2 separate regions of the Homo sapiens genome follow, and region 2 is linked to region 1. The links are contacts of gene promoters, found by promoter capture Hi-C in blood cells and fetal thymus (Javierre and others, 2016). All regions are on one chromosome and are shown on one strand. The core of a region is centred on a gene start or on the middle of the fragment in contact, and the rest is flanking DNA. Distances in the headings are between cores, read along the strand shown.

Region 1 (7,132 bases), core at 2,620-5,119:
GCTGGTGGGAGACAGAGAGTGGAAGCTGACAAACCAGTTGGGGGGCTCCTGCAGTCATCCAGGCCAGGGAAGAATACAGTTTGACACCAGGGTGGTGGTGGTGGCAGTGCAGGTGATAGGAATGGTCAAATTAACTTTTTAAAAAAGATGGTCCAATCTGCAGTGATTTTGAAGGTAGAGCCCATAATACTTGCTGTTGAAGGAATAGATTTAGAATGAGTGAAATGGGGAATTAGAATTTTTAGCCTCAGCAACTGGTGGATGGTGGTACCATTGACTGAGATGGAGAAGAATGAGAAACTGTAGCCAATGAGGCAGGATGAAAATCAGAAAGAGCGGTGTCCCAGAAGCCAAGGGGAAACGACATTTTGATAGGGAAGGAGTTATCTGTTGCCTGTGTCAAATGTGGCTGAAGATCCAGTTTGGCAAGACTGACATCCCTGGTGACCTGGAGAAGAATTGTTTCATGGAGTAGGAGGGATAATGTGTCTCTGAAGCGGGTTCAGAAGAAGATGGCAGATAAGGAGTAGAGACAGCCTACATGGAGTCCCTTCAAAGATTTTCTTTTTGAAGCAAAGCTGCATTGTTATTGTTTGAAGTTTTATTTTTAACTTTTCATTTCTCCCAGTGCTGGGATTACAGGTGTGAGCCACCGCGCCTGGCCTGTTTCATGTTTTCATTTCTCTTCTTCCACGTTGGAAACCCTAGTTCCCAAAATATCAATGAATTTACTCATTTGCTCAATCCTATAATGCACACAAAATAGTTTCAGAATTGCTACACCTCTACCATACAAATAATAGCCTACTACACAGAGTTCAAGATTATTTTTTCAGTTCTTTAATCTTTAATCCTGTGCTCAAAACTTACTTGGTTTTTTTTTTTTTCTTCTGGGAGTTTATATTATTCACATAAATACACGGTTTGTTGTTGCTGTTTGTATTGTTTTGGAGTCCCACTCTCCACATCTTGTTAATTTTATTTTTGAACATAAAAAAGACTAACAGTTTCCAAAACTCAAAACTATGCAAAAAAGTACATTCAGAACAAGGCCATTCCTTCTGTTGTTCCCATTTACTCAGTTCCTACCCGGTGCCTGTAGGTAACTAATTAGTTTCTGGTTCTCACTCCTGTATTTATTTTTTGTTCTGTCAAAAAACTACGCTTCCTCAAGGTGAGGTAGAGAAATGAGGCAGGGCCAGACGCCGTGGCTCACGCCTGTAATCCTAACACTTTGGGAGGCTGAGGTGGGTGGACTGCTTGAGCCCAAGAGTTCAAGACCAGCCTGGGCAACACAGCGAGATCCCGCTTCTATTTATAAAAATAAATAAATAAAAAGAAATGAGGCAGTCACTGAAGCAGAACACTGGATCAAGAAACCATTTTATTTTAAAATGGCAGACTGTACAATAATGTAAATGATTCTGTAGTAACTGACAAATTGAAGGTGCAGGAGAGAGTATGATAAATTGCAGAGGGAAATATCCATCAAAATATCCTCTAGTTTAATTTGAGGGATATCAAAGGGTTCTCATATCCCAAAATTGACCGCAATCCTGTTTGTAACCTTCCAAATTAGTTATAACTCTATCTCTAGAGAACCCACATTAAAATGGAGTTACTGTTTTATCAAGATAATTAAGCCATCACTACCTATTAATATCAATAGGATACACTGTGCCCTGGCAAAAGGGAGGTTTTGAACTTGGAACAAGACATTTAACTAGGAGTAGAGTGGTGAGAAGAGAATGGCTGATGTGAGAAGCTGTATAAAAACATGGGACAGACAATAATGATCATGCTGGAAAAACAAACATGCTTCTGGCATGTCTTGGATATTTTACACACATGCTAATGAGTAATTGAGGGTCACTCCTCATGCCCTCGAACTAAGTTAATATGGCTCAGGGGAAAGAACATGGACTTTGGAAACAGAGGGGTCTTGCTTCGAATCCCAGTTGAGTTACCTAACACCTACATGACCACTGCCAAGTTACTTAAAACCTCACAGACAATTTCCTTACCTGTGGAAGTAGATAATGGTGTTACTGTGAGATATAAGTAGAATAACTTACAGCACTGCCCCAGCCCAGAAGAGATATTTTAATAAATAAGTCCATAACAGACGCAGATTAAAATAGTCAGCAAGGTAAAGAAACTGATGATACAGCCAGCTGACTTCAATAACATGCCTAAGAGAAATCACACCATCTCAGGCAGTATTTGGTAAGGCCAGAAGAATGTCCAACACTTAGTTCCAATTCTTAATTTTCAAATTGCCCCAGAGTCTATTTTTAAAGTGTAAAAGTATGTGCTGACATACTTACATGCCAATTGTTTAAAAGAAACAATTCTACAGGTTAACAAAGGCCAAAGACTCGGAATAACTTCCTAAATAATGTTTATGGGCCCACAAAGAGTTGAACCAACCTAAAATATCACAAGCTGTATCAATCAGTTTTATAAATGTATATACAGAGGGTTGACAACGTTCAATAAGATGATATTTTAAAAGTTTCTATTTCAGTTTCAAATTCATCTACAAACCAAAATGCAACATGGAAAATCTTAAAATGTCTTTAAGCCACATACTGAAATATACAGTAAATTTTCAGAGCCTAGGATCAGTAGTAAACCAAAAGCCCCAAACTGAAGAGTATTAAAATGAACAATGGCAGAGACTCGAAGCACACAATTTTGAATGCACCTAATCAGCCGTCCTCCTCTCCGACTAGAAATAACTTCCCTCCCATCTTAAATTAAGTAGCGTGTGTTCTGTCTCTGTCCTAGAAGATGTACTTAATGGTCATAAACTCTGTTTGCAACACTGAGACGGACTCATAATAAAAGTTCTAATCAACAATTAAATTTTGAACGTTTTAAGAAAACTTCCCGCTAAGCCACACGCCAAGCTACTTTGTCGGTGGCTGAGAGGGAGAAAGATGCATCCTTATCCTTTATGGAAAGAGAAAGGGAAGGAGTGGGAGAAAAGGGAACACAAGGAGACGAAAAATAACAAAGTATTGCTTGTATAAACAAATGAAAGCCTGGTTTCAAACTTTTGAAAATTCAACGTTCCCTTAGCGAATAGCAATACATATCAAAGTATATGGCAATCATCTGTGTTCTGAAGCAGAAAAAGGTGGAGAGAAAAGCAAAACACTTTTTATTGTACTGAACTCACAAGTATTCAAAATTCATCAATCCCCTCCCATCCCCAAACTCTGGACATTATATCATTTCCAAAATAAATCTGAAACAAAACCATTGGACTAATTTTGGACTCAGCGTAGAACTTTTATGAGTCTTCCAAGCACTCTCCACCCAACAGCCCTGCTGGGCAGTCCCGAATACCCGTTATTTTGGGGGCACGCACGGGCTCGTGCTCTGAGTTCCTGGAAGGAGGCCTCGGGGAGTGACGAGAAACCAGGGGGGTCTGCAGGACTTGGACCGCCGACCGTTCCTCGCTCCCCGGGGCGAGCGGTCTGGACCGCCCGGGAAGTGCCTGCGCCGGCGGTCGTGGGGCCAGTTCCCGCGTGGCAGCTGGGCGCGACACAGGCGCGCCCTCCTCGTCCCTCCCGGGCAGCGTCGGCCGCCCGAGCCCGGGGAGACCCGCCCCGCCCCGCGCCGTCACCCGGGCCCCGTTCCGCAGGGGTGGCTCGCGGCGCCCCACGTCCCTGCGAGAAGCCCGGGATCGCTTCGCGGGGCGCACCGACGAGCCGCCGCTCGCGAGCTCGCCGCCTACCTGGAGGGAGCTCAGGCCCGCGTCGACCGCGCGCTGCCGGTGTCCGCTGGGCGCTCAGCAGCCCCTGGAGCGCGGAGCCGGCGTGGAGAGCGCAGCTCACAGCCGAGACCAGAGCCGCCGGCCACACCCAGTCCCGCACCTCCCAGCAGCCAACTCCGCGGCGCGCCGGAGCCGGGGCGGGGACGTGGCTGGAGGCGCGAGGCGCGAGGCACGAGGCGCGCGGGCCCGGCGGGGACGTGCCGGGGACGCGCAGACCCTCGGAGCGCGCGCAGCCCGGGCGGGGGGCGAAGGGAGCGGGCGCCGCGCGCAGCTTCTGCTTCCTATTTTCTCTCTCGTTTCCTGCCAGAAGGAGAAGAAAAACATTCATTCCCGGGCAGTTTCGTTTTCTTGTTGGTGTGGCGCCGGGGCACGCTGCTAAGTAGCGCCCGTCTAAGTGGCGTGGCCAGTTTCCTTTCCGGCGCTGACAGGCGCCAGTTTGCTTGTTAGCAGGATCGAAGGGCAGAGCTAGAAGACCCCAAAGGCCCCATTTAGGTTTCCCATTCTGGAATTCTAAATGTCAGAAAGTAAACTGAAGCCCAGAGTTGCACAACCTTGCGTTGCAGTCCCCGCTCTTCCATCACTAGTTGTAGGACCGTGTACCGTCTCGGGCCTAAGTTTCGTCATCGCCAAAATAAAGATACTGATACCTGCCTCATAAAGGTGCTAAGCATATTAAATGAAGTGATGTTTGCACGAAGCCTGCCTCCAAATAAATGGCCAATACTTGGAAGTTATTGTTCCTATTGTCATTGATAAAACTGGAAGGCCTTCCAGATATCCCTGCCAAGTCGCTCTTCTCTGCATGAGTTAAACACCACATGCATCTCAATCGAGTTTTTTTTTTTTTCACATTTATCTGGGTGTTTTATGTTTAAAATGTCATAAAATAAATGCATCTATCCAATTTGCTTCCTCTGAAGTCAGTACCGCCTGGGAGCATTTTTCCTCTCCCCACCCCCATTTTTCTTCTGAGTTAATTCCAGTTTGACAGACTGTTGCTATAGCATTCCTTCTCTGACGTCAAACAATTTAAAGAAACAGCCCTGGGTAGCGAAAACTGCAGAGGAGTTCTTTGTGGAGTTTCTGTGCCGGAGAAATGTTCGAACAATATCATCAGATAACTTTAACAACCCCTCAGCCTTCCAATCCTCCTTCTGTAGCTGCTTCCCACTATCACCTGGAATAAATCTATTAGTCCCTTGAAAGAGGTGATGCCATGATAAACACACCCTGTTTGTGACTGTGGGGAAAATGTGACCGTTTTGTATAAAAGCCAGGCCGTGACAAAAATAGAAGCAGCTGTTTCTATTTTCTTTATCCACAGATAAAGAAACTGTGGATAATTTTTCCCCCAAAATTTTCATTTTTACTAATATTAGGAGCATTTTTCCATTAAGAAGAAAGAAATGCCAAATATTCTGCATATCAAAGTGTCAGAAGAGCTCGTTGGGACATGAGTGTTTTGCATCTGTAACTATTTATGTTTTAATGATTAAATCCTGAGTTTTATGATTGTCGTTTTTCGGAGGAAGCAAAGGGAAATTGTTAAAGAGTGCCTATTACGGACCATGCTCTCTGCTTTCTTATACTGTACTTAATCCTCATAATTACCTTGAAGTGTGAATTTTATCCCCATTTTACAGATAAGCAAACTGATGCCCTGGTAAGATTAATTTATCGGAGTCACGAAGGTATTGGTAGAGCCCTGCATGACATCAGATTGGATCAACTCCAAAGCCCACATTCTTTCTTTTTTTTGTTTGTTTTTTTGTTTTGAGACGGAGTCACTGTGCAGTGATGTGATGTCAGCTCACTGCAACCTCCACCTCCAGGATTCAAGCGATTCTCGTGTCTCAGCCTCCCAAGTCTGGGATTACAGGCACAAGCCACCACGCCCGGCTGATTTTTTGTATTTTTAGTAGACACGGGGTTTCACCGTGTTGACCAGGCTGGTCTCAATCTGCTGACCTCAGGTGATCCGCCCACCTCGGCCTCCCAAAGTGCTGGAATTACAGGCGTGAGCCACCGATCCCGGCCCCATATTCTTTCTTTAGATTCTTTTCTGCCTTGTTCCTGTGCACTAGCATTTACCAGATGTTATAAAGCTTTGAGAGCTGGTTGTTGGGTTAAGATTATTTGTTGAAAAACAAGTTGCTGGTATTTAGGAAAACACAGTGGGAAGCAATGAGATAGTCTATTCCAGAAAAGATGAGGGGAAATATAAATGAACAGCTCCTAAACATAAAATACAAAACCTGAAAAGATGTAACAAGAATTTGACTGTCTTTTAAAGAGTTTAAAAGAATGATATCGTCAATCTTCCTGAAAATTTAATGTAGACAAAGAAATTACTAGAAGAATAAAGTCCAAGTACAGAAAAAGGAAAGTTTAATTATTATCCAAACGAATCTACTTCCAAGAATATTGTATTTCTGTTTTGCCATACCTGCTCCATATTGTTCTGGAAAAAAAAAAAAAAACTTACTTGTTAAAGGACAAGCCTATACTGAAAATCTGAAAGTGGAGCTGATTAAAAGAATTTTGTCATCAGGAATGATTTCATAAGAGCACACTAATGCATCTAAGTGATCCAGCAATTCATGATTTTTCCAATGATAATGAAATCCACGAAGAACAAAAGAGAGAGACTGGGAAGGGAGGCAGAGAGAAAGGTGAAGGGGTATGCTATTAACATTTCTGATGCCTGCTGGTTTGTGTAGACAATTGTAGAGATGTATCCTACTTCTGAGGATTAAGCCCCATGATCTTTTGTTTGGGTGCCACTGGCTGATAATTAGATTTCTAACTCATTAGGCCCATGTTCTCAAATCCTACTCTATTAAGAGAGCATAGTGGGGTCCCTACTAGAGAACCTTTGAAGACAAAATCCTTGTCCGTTTCATCTTTGTGTCTGCCATAGTGTTTAACAGAGCACCTTGCATTTGCTAGGTACTCCACGAACAAATAAATGAGTGAATGCACTTGGCTGCTTGTTTTATGCAAATAACCTGCATACCTCACCCCATCCCACACGCTAGTCAGAATCATAGGAGAGGAGAAAGTGGTCATTGCTTTTCTAGGAGTTTAGTTACAGTTTCTTTTGCAGGGTGTTTTGCTTCACTATGATCAAGTTCAGAGAAGCTCTGCTCTTGGTCCTACATTGGATGAATCTGAATGCTGTACTCAGTGAGCTACCCTGTAATCCATAGTGCCATAGGTTTGTATATCCTGCTTTTAAGTTTTACCCTAGAAATGGTCTATATTTTTTTCTGAGCCTACCTTGCTCTCAGACGATGCCAAGCACACCGTGAAGAACACAGCTATTAAAGTGTACAATATTTCAGTACC
Region 2 (7,132 bases), core at 1,727-4,226, 140 kb after region 1:
TATTTAGTAGAGACGGGGTTTCACCATGTTAGCCGGGATGGTCTCGATCGCCTGACCTCGTGATCCACCCACCTCGGCCTCCCAAAGTGCTGGGATTACAGGTGTGAGCCACCGCACCCAGCCTGACTTTCCTATTTTTTATAATACTTATGTAATAACAGAAATTAAAATTTAAAGACAGCTTAAGCTTTCTTTATGTCATCTGGTATGATATATGACCATATGTCATCTGGTATAAAGATAATATGTTTTATTAAAGGTGCTTGTGCTCACCTGAGAAAATGGTCCACATAAGGCAAGGCAAAGAATCGTTTCCTATTGTATCTTTTATTTAGGTGCCAAGGTATAACCCACTGCTTGAACTTGTGCCTGCCAATAAAGCAAAAAGTTATTTGCCTTAAAGAAAACATTTAATACATTTTCACTTTCCTAATTTACCTCAAAAGGGTTAGTCCAAATAAAAATTAGTAGAAAATAAAACATAAACATTTTTAGTGAGATGCTTTGGCAATTTCTCTTTTCTGTGTTGGACTTAAACCCCATTAAAAGAACCTACCGAATGAGTTATGAGTTAAGTGGTATAATGTCAAGAGTACAGGGAAGGTCTCTAACCAAAATGCCTTCCCCATTCTGCCTACGTTTAAAAGTCTAATGATATTTCATCTTGGTTGTTCAGCCCAAAGGTAAATAAACCTCTTTCTGAGGGGAGGTTTATTTACCTTTGGGTTGAACAGCCTCCCCACCGAAGGAGGTTTATTTACACCAGGTCTTCTCAGTTATTTACACCTCAGCATGAAGGCTGATTACCAGATCCTTTCCCAAAGGCTGACAAGACTCTGGGATTTGAATGTAGGAGAAACAAGGAGGTATAAAAAATAAACTACTTCATAATTTGCCCTAGGGCTTATCCTGATGGCAGTGGGAGCAAACTGAAACTGGTTCATGTGACATTCCCTGAGACTTTAAAAAAAATAGTTCCAGGTTCTCAATGTGCAAAGAGGGCAGGTGTGTGTCCTGAAGTTAGCTTCATGGATTTTATACCTTCTGAAGTGATATGTGTACATGTACATTTTTCTGAGGAAACGATCCCTAACTTTCATCAAATTCTCAAAAGGCCTTGTGATTCATATAAGACTAAGAACCACTACAATAAAGACTTATAGGTAACTGAATCATAGGAATGGGATGTCTGGGCTGGTTTTACCAGATAAAGCTACCTTCATTCATATCCTCCTTCATTAAAGTCCAAAGGGGTGTGGGGCCTCTTCTTTTATTAGACATATCTCTAATATTATCTCATATGGTACAAATTTTTTTTTAAAAGATATTGGGCAGGGGAATGAGGCATGGATTTCCACTCTCATCTTAGAAGAGCCACAGTGTTAACTACATACCAGATGATTCTTCCAAAGATGTCTCTTCTCCAAGCACCAGGTCTAGCTCTTTCTTGACCAGTCTGAAGAAGCCTTAGGGCATCTTCTCTTTCCTGGACAACTTTATCTAATGCATCCATGGAATCTACTACCTGAAAAGAGAATAGAAAGATACAATTTCAACAATCATCTACTACAAAATTCCCAAAAAAGAGAATGTATAAACACTTCTGCTACAGAAAACTTATGAATATTTATGCCAAAGAACCACTCTGTTAAGTATTTCCTAAAAATCTTTTTGGCACAAGTATGTCTACATGGGTGTCTAGATTACCACTTTCTGTATTTTTTAAAAAGCTTACAGTTTTAACTACAAATATATTTCCATTAGTTTTGTTTGGAGTGAGATACACTTACATAGATTCCTTTTGGAGACCCAATTTGATTCATGTTATTTCAAAACTCAATGAGCTAATAAGAAGTGATAATAATTTGCTATTTTCATTATATTAAAAAAGACATGTTCTGGTCTCAACTAATCACTGTGTCCTTGACATGCAGACACAGATATTGTGGCCTGCTTGGTAGCTGTTGCTACTACAGGGAAAGGAATAGCAGTCCATCCAGATATGAATCTCCAAAGATTTATCAAGATGCAAGATGATACTATTAAACTTCTATTTATTTTTACCTCTTTAAGATTTCTATTGTTTTATAATGTATATATTGGCAGGGTTTTATACATATATATATTTTTTAGACAGAGTCTTGCTCTGTCACTCAGGCTAGAGCGCAGTGGCGTGATCTTGGCTCATTGCAACCTCCACCTTCCAGGTTCAAGCAATTCTCCTGCCTCAGCCTCCTGAGCAGCTGGGATTACAGGCACCTGCCACCACACCCGGCTAATTTTTTGTATTTTTATTAGAGATGGGGTTTCACCATGTTGGCCAGGCTGGTCTCAAACTCCTGGCCCCAGGTGATCTGCCCACCTTGGCCTCCCAAAGTGCTGGGATTACAGGCATGAGCAACCGCACCCGGCCTTCTATTTGTTTACATATAAATATTCATATGTTGGGGATTGTAATGTGAGATGGGCCAAACTTTTTCATAGTCCTAAATACATACTGAGAGCCATTTTATGTGTATGTCCCTTAAGCATCACAACAGATATCAAATACTGCATAAGCACATTTGTTTCTCATAAGAATCCTCAAAAAAAGCACAGATTATAATCCCCCAGGTAGCTATGAGATCTGAAAAAGATATGAAAGCCACAAATTTAGATAAATTACTTCATAATCAGTTTTGTTTTTGTTTTTTGAGACAGGGTCTAGCTCTGTCAGCCAGGCTGGAGTGCAGTGGCACGATCTTGGCTCACTGCAACCTCTGCCTCCCAGGCTCAAGCAATCCTCCCACCTCAGCCTCCCAAGTAGCTGGGACTACAGGCATGCACCACCACACCCGACTAATTTTTGTATTTTTTTGGTAGAGACAGGGTTTTGCCATGTAGCCCAGGCTGGTCTCAAACTCCTTGGGCTCAAGTGATCTATTTGCCTTGGCCTCCCAAAGTGCTGGGATTACAGACGTGAGCCATTGCACCTGGCCCATAACCTGCTCAGTTCACACTCAGCACTTCTGCTATCCTCAACTTCACTAAATGCCTTACAGTAGCTGAATTCACATGCCTTCCTCTTAACTATTTTATTTTCTACAAAATCCCTGAAAAAGAAATGATGACTAAGACAAATTCTATTTTGAAGACAAGCAAACTTAGGAGAGTAAAGGGACCACATTGATAAGGGCTTTATATAAAACTCTCTAATCTTTAGAAATTTTTAGTAAAGCTGGTTGTTCACTAACTGCATTAAAGAGTTTGCCTAAGCAAGGGTAAGACTTGAGGCTTCCAGCTGAAATCCAGTGTTAGCTCACAAAGATAGAAAGTAAATGGCTACCAAGTCCACAGAATTAACATTCAGAAGTTCATGCCAAGAAATGTGAAGGAAAATCAAAAGTATTATTTAGATATACCTTATTGAAAACAAGTCAACCTCAAAGAGCCTTCTTTTCTATAAGTTTCTCAGTGCCAGGAGCGTCAGTTGAGAGAATATAAAATAGGACTGTGTTCCAGGGTAAGAGTATACACTTCTCTTTACAGCCAAGAATTAACATTACAGAGTAGCCCTTGAAACACATGTTTTTAAAAGAGACAAAAAGATACACTTGCAAAATTATAATCAATCTTTCAACATTTGCCTTGTTTCTGTATTTCAAACACAAGGGGACTAACATGTCATTTATTTGTGTGATAAATAGATACTAATACTCTGAAGAGAAGCACATATAGTGAGGGTCATTTATCTCAAATGGATAGTTAATACTTTAGTTACAATCATAGCTAACTATTGTGCCAGAATTATATAATTTCTCCCTTAATTTTTATATTATTCTCTAAGTAAAATTTGTCTGTAATATGCTTCAACTGGATATCAACTCACATCAGTGATAAGAATTATATCCCAATTATAATTCTTTTCTCTTTTACTCTTCCTTAAACAGTTCCAAATCTTCGGTTTCTATCTTATATTGAGAATTTTTTTTACATTTTTGCTTAATAAAGTTTCCTTAGTAGTATGTCACAAAACACTGGAAACACCAGATGTATATGAAGTTTGAAAAAATTATGGTCACTTTCAGCTTCTCTGGAGTAAACTTTTATTATTTTGGGTTCTACTGATTGAGAAAGTGCAGTACATATAACCTACTGGGCTGAAGTTCACCTCTGAAATACATATTTAAAGCAGATAATCCACGGTTGAAGTTCAAAAGTTCTGTAACAGCACCATTATAGCAAAAGCTTTTTCATCAAATAACGTGTTCTTTATAAAGCATCCTTACTTGTCAATGCACTTTTTATTTTTTATTTATTGAGACAGGGTCTTGCTCGGTCACCCAGCCTAGAGTTTGGTGGTGCAATCGTGGCTCACTGCAGCCTCAACCTCCCAGGCCCTATACTTTTAAAAAAGTTCAATGTCAGGAAACACAAAGACTGAGTCTCCAGATTAAAGGAGACTGAAGAGACACATGAAAATTCATGATGCAGAATTTTCTTTTGCCATAAAGGACACTTGGGATAACTGACAAACTCTGAATAAGATCTGTAGATTACAGCTAACAGAACTGTATCAATGTTAATTTCCTGATTTTGAAATTTACATAGTGGTTATATAAGGGAATATCCTGGTTTTTCTGAAGTTTTTATAGATAAAGGGATGTCATGTGTACAACTTACTCTCAAACATTTGAGAAAAAATACTGTGTATGGAGGACTGATAGATGCATAGAAGGATAAGGTAAATGCAGTAAAACAGAGCAATCTGGAGGGTATATGAGAATTCCTTCTACTATTCTTGTAATTTTTCTGTGAGTCTAATATTATGTCAAAATAAAGATAAAAGAAAAAAATGTTATATAACTCAACTTTCACTACATCAGAATAACCTTCTCCATAATTAGGGTAAATCAATGAGGTTTCATTTTATACCTTCTTTGATTTTCTCCAGGGATCGTTATGTCCTTCCATCTTAAAGGCAGTGTGGTAAAAATGGCTGCGACTGGTGTGAGGAAAGGAAACTAAAGTAGCTAAGGTTAGGTAGCAGGACTAATGCTATTATAAAAACTGAGTTCTGTTCTCACTACTTACTATGCCACAGAAAAAAATCAATAAAGGGTTGATCTTGAAAGCATCGAGTAAAAACATACATCTAAATAAAAACCTAAGTCTTCGGCCAGGCACGATGACTCACACCTGTAATCCCAGCACTTTGGGAGGCTGAGGCGGGCAGATCACGAGGTCAGGAGTTCAAGACCAGCCTGGCCAACATGGTAAAACCCCGTCTCTATTAAAAATACAAAAAATTAGCCAGTAGTGGTGGTGTGTGCCTGTGGTCTCAGCTACTTGGGAGGCTGAGGCAGGAGAATCGTTTGAACCCGGGAGGTGGAGGTTGCAGCAAGCCGAGACTGTGCTATTGCACTCCAGCCTGGACAACAAGAGCAAAACTCCGTCTCAAAAAAATAAAATAAAAAAGTAACCAACTTCTCACAATATTGTAAATATACTAAACACTACTGACTATTACACTTAAAAATGGTCAAGACAGTAAATTTTATGTTATGTGATTTTTACCACAGTTATTTTAAAAAGCAGTAAAAAACTGATCTAGTTACTAAGGAAATGGTTAAACCAGAACTACAAATGTAAAGTGGTATAGCTACTTTAGAATACAGTTTGGCGGTTTCTTAAAATGCTAAATATAGATTTATCATATAAGCCAGCAATTTCACTCCTAGGTATCTACTCAAAAACATTTGTCCACATGTATGTTAGAAGTTGCAGGTAGGTTTGGGAAGCCAAGGTGAGTAGGTCACTTGAGGTTAAGAGTTTGAGACCAGCATGGCCAACATGGTGAAACCACATTTATACCAAAGATACAAAAATTAACTTGGCATGGTGGTATGTGCCTGTAATCCCAGCAACTTGGGAGGCTGAGGCAGGAGAATTGCTTGATCCTGGGAGGTGGAGGTTGCAGTGAGCCAAGATATCACACCACTGCACTCCAGCCTGGGGGCGACAGAGTGAGACCCACCTGACACACTGACACACACACACACACACACACACACACAAACAAAAAAAAAAAAACAAAAAACACGTTGCAGGTAGAAATGAGGAATGACTGCAGGTGAGTATGAGATTTCTTTTAGGGGCGATGGAAATGTTTCCAAAGGAGCTATGATGGTTGCACTACTCAAATTTACTAAAAATCAAACGAATAAGAAAAAAAAATCTATTTGACAAGAAATACAGGAACCACATACTCACTCCTTTTAGCTGTAATCATGTATACCAGTCTCCAGCCTCTCCCAATCCTTACCTTATCTAACCGCTCTGGACTTGGCATTGGCAATCTCTGCCGCTTGGCCTCCTGCTCTAGGGTTAGAAGCATGTTTCTTTCTTTCAGTAAGACATACCTATACAAAAGAACACAAACCTTGTGATGCTATTCTGTGGTTATGTTAATAAAGTTGTGATTTCTGACATCAAAATTAATTATCTGTACTTGAAAGTCACTTAGAGGCGAGGTGCTGTGGCTCACACCTGTAATCCCAGCACTTTGGGAGGCTGAGGTAGGAGGATCGCTTGACCTTGGGAGTTCAATACCAGCCTGGGCAACACAGCTAGAAAAAATAAACATCACTACAAAAAATAAAAAATATAATTAGCCGGGCATGGCAGCACACACCTGTAGCCCCGGCTGTTTGGGAGACTAAGGCAGGAGGATTGCTTGAGCCTAGGAATTTGAGGCTATAGTGGGCTAAGATCACACTACTATACTCCAGCCTGGGGATAAAGTGAGATCTTGCTTCAAAAAAAAAAAAAAGACATATTAGAAATCTCAATATATAGAATATGATTACAAAGAATAATCCATTATACATAAACTATCTTTGCTTATCCATGTGTTCAATAAACCTTCCATTTGCCACATGTATTAAGTGCTAAGAGAGCTACAAAGAGGCATAAAACATAGTCCTTACATTCTGAGTGGAGAGTAGAGAAGGCAGATGGAAGATAAATAACATTTACTGAGTACCTATTATATGCCAGACAATGTGTTAAACATTTTATATACACTTATTTCATCTAGTTTTCACAACCACCTTCTGAGGTTGGTATTATTTCCACTTACTTAACGAAGAAG

The links. Contacts are between HindIII fragments. The CHiCAGO score rates a contact against its expected background, and 5 or more counts as called.
Region 2: a contact is called between a fragment that was not itself captured here and the fragment with the promoter of GNB4 in region 1, in 1 of 17 cell types (monocytes). The highest score is 5.7, in monocytes.

The regions. Positions count from the first base shown.
Region 1 is chr3:179,447,601-179,454,732 of GRCh38, forward strand. GNB4 (G protein subunit beta 4) reads right to left here and starts at 3,870. Exons shown (of 10, transcript NM_021629.4): 1 at 3,746-3,870. It also overlaps the pseudogene RPL29P34. RefSeq lists silencers at 3,441-3,850, 3,891-4,040. The HindIII fragment of the contact is 16,902 bases long and covers 1-5,887 here.
Region 2 is chr3:179,592,371-179,599,502 of GRCh38, forward strand. MRPL47 (mitochondrial ribosomal protein L47) reads right to left here. Exons shown (of 7, transcript NM_020409.3): 4 at 6,305-6,401; 5 at 1,395-1,525; 6 at 274-369. Among named protein-coding and RNA genes, the nearest start is that of MRPL47, 8.7 kb to the right of the region's middle. The HindIII fragment of the contact is 2,497 bases long and covers 1,729-4,225 here.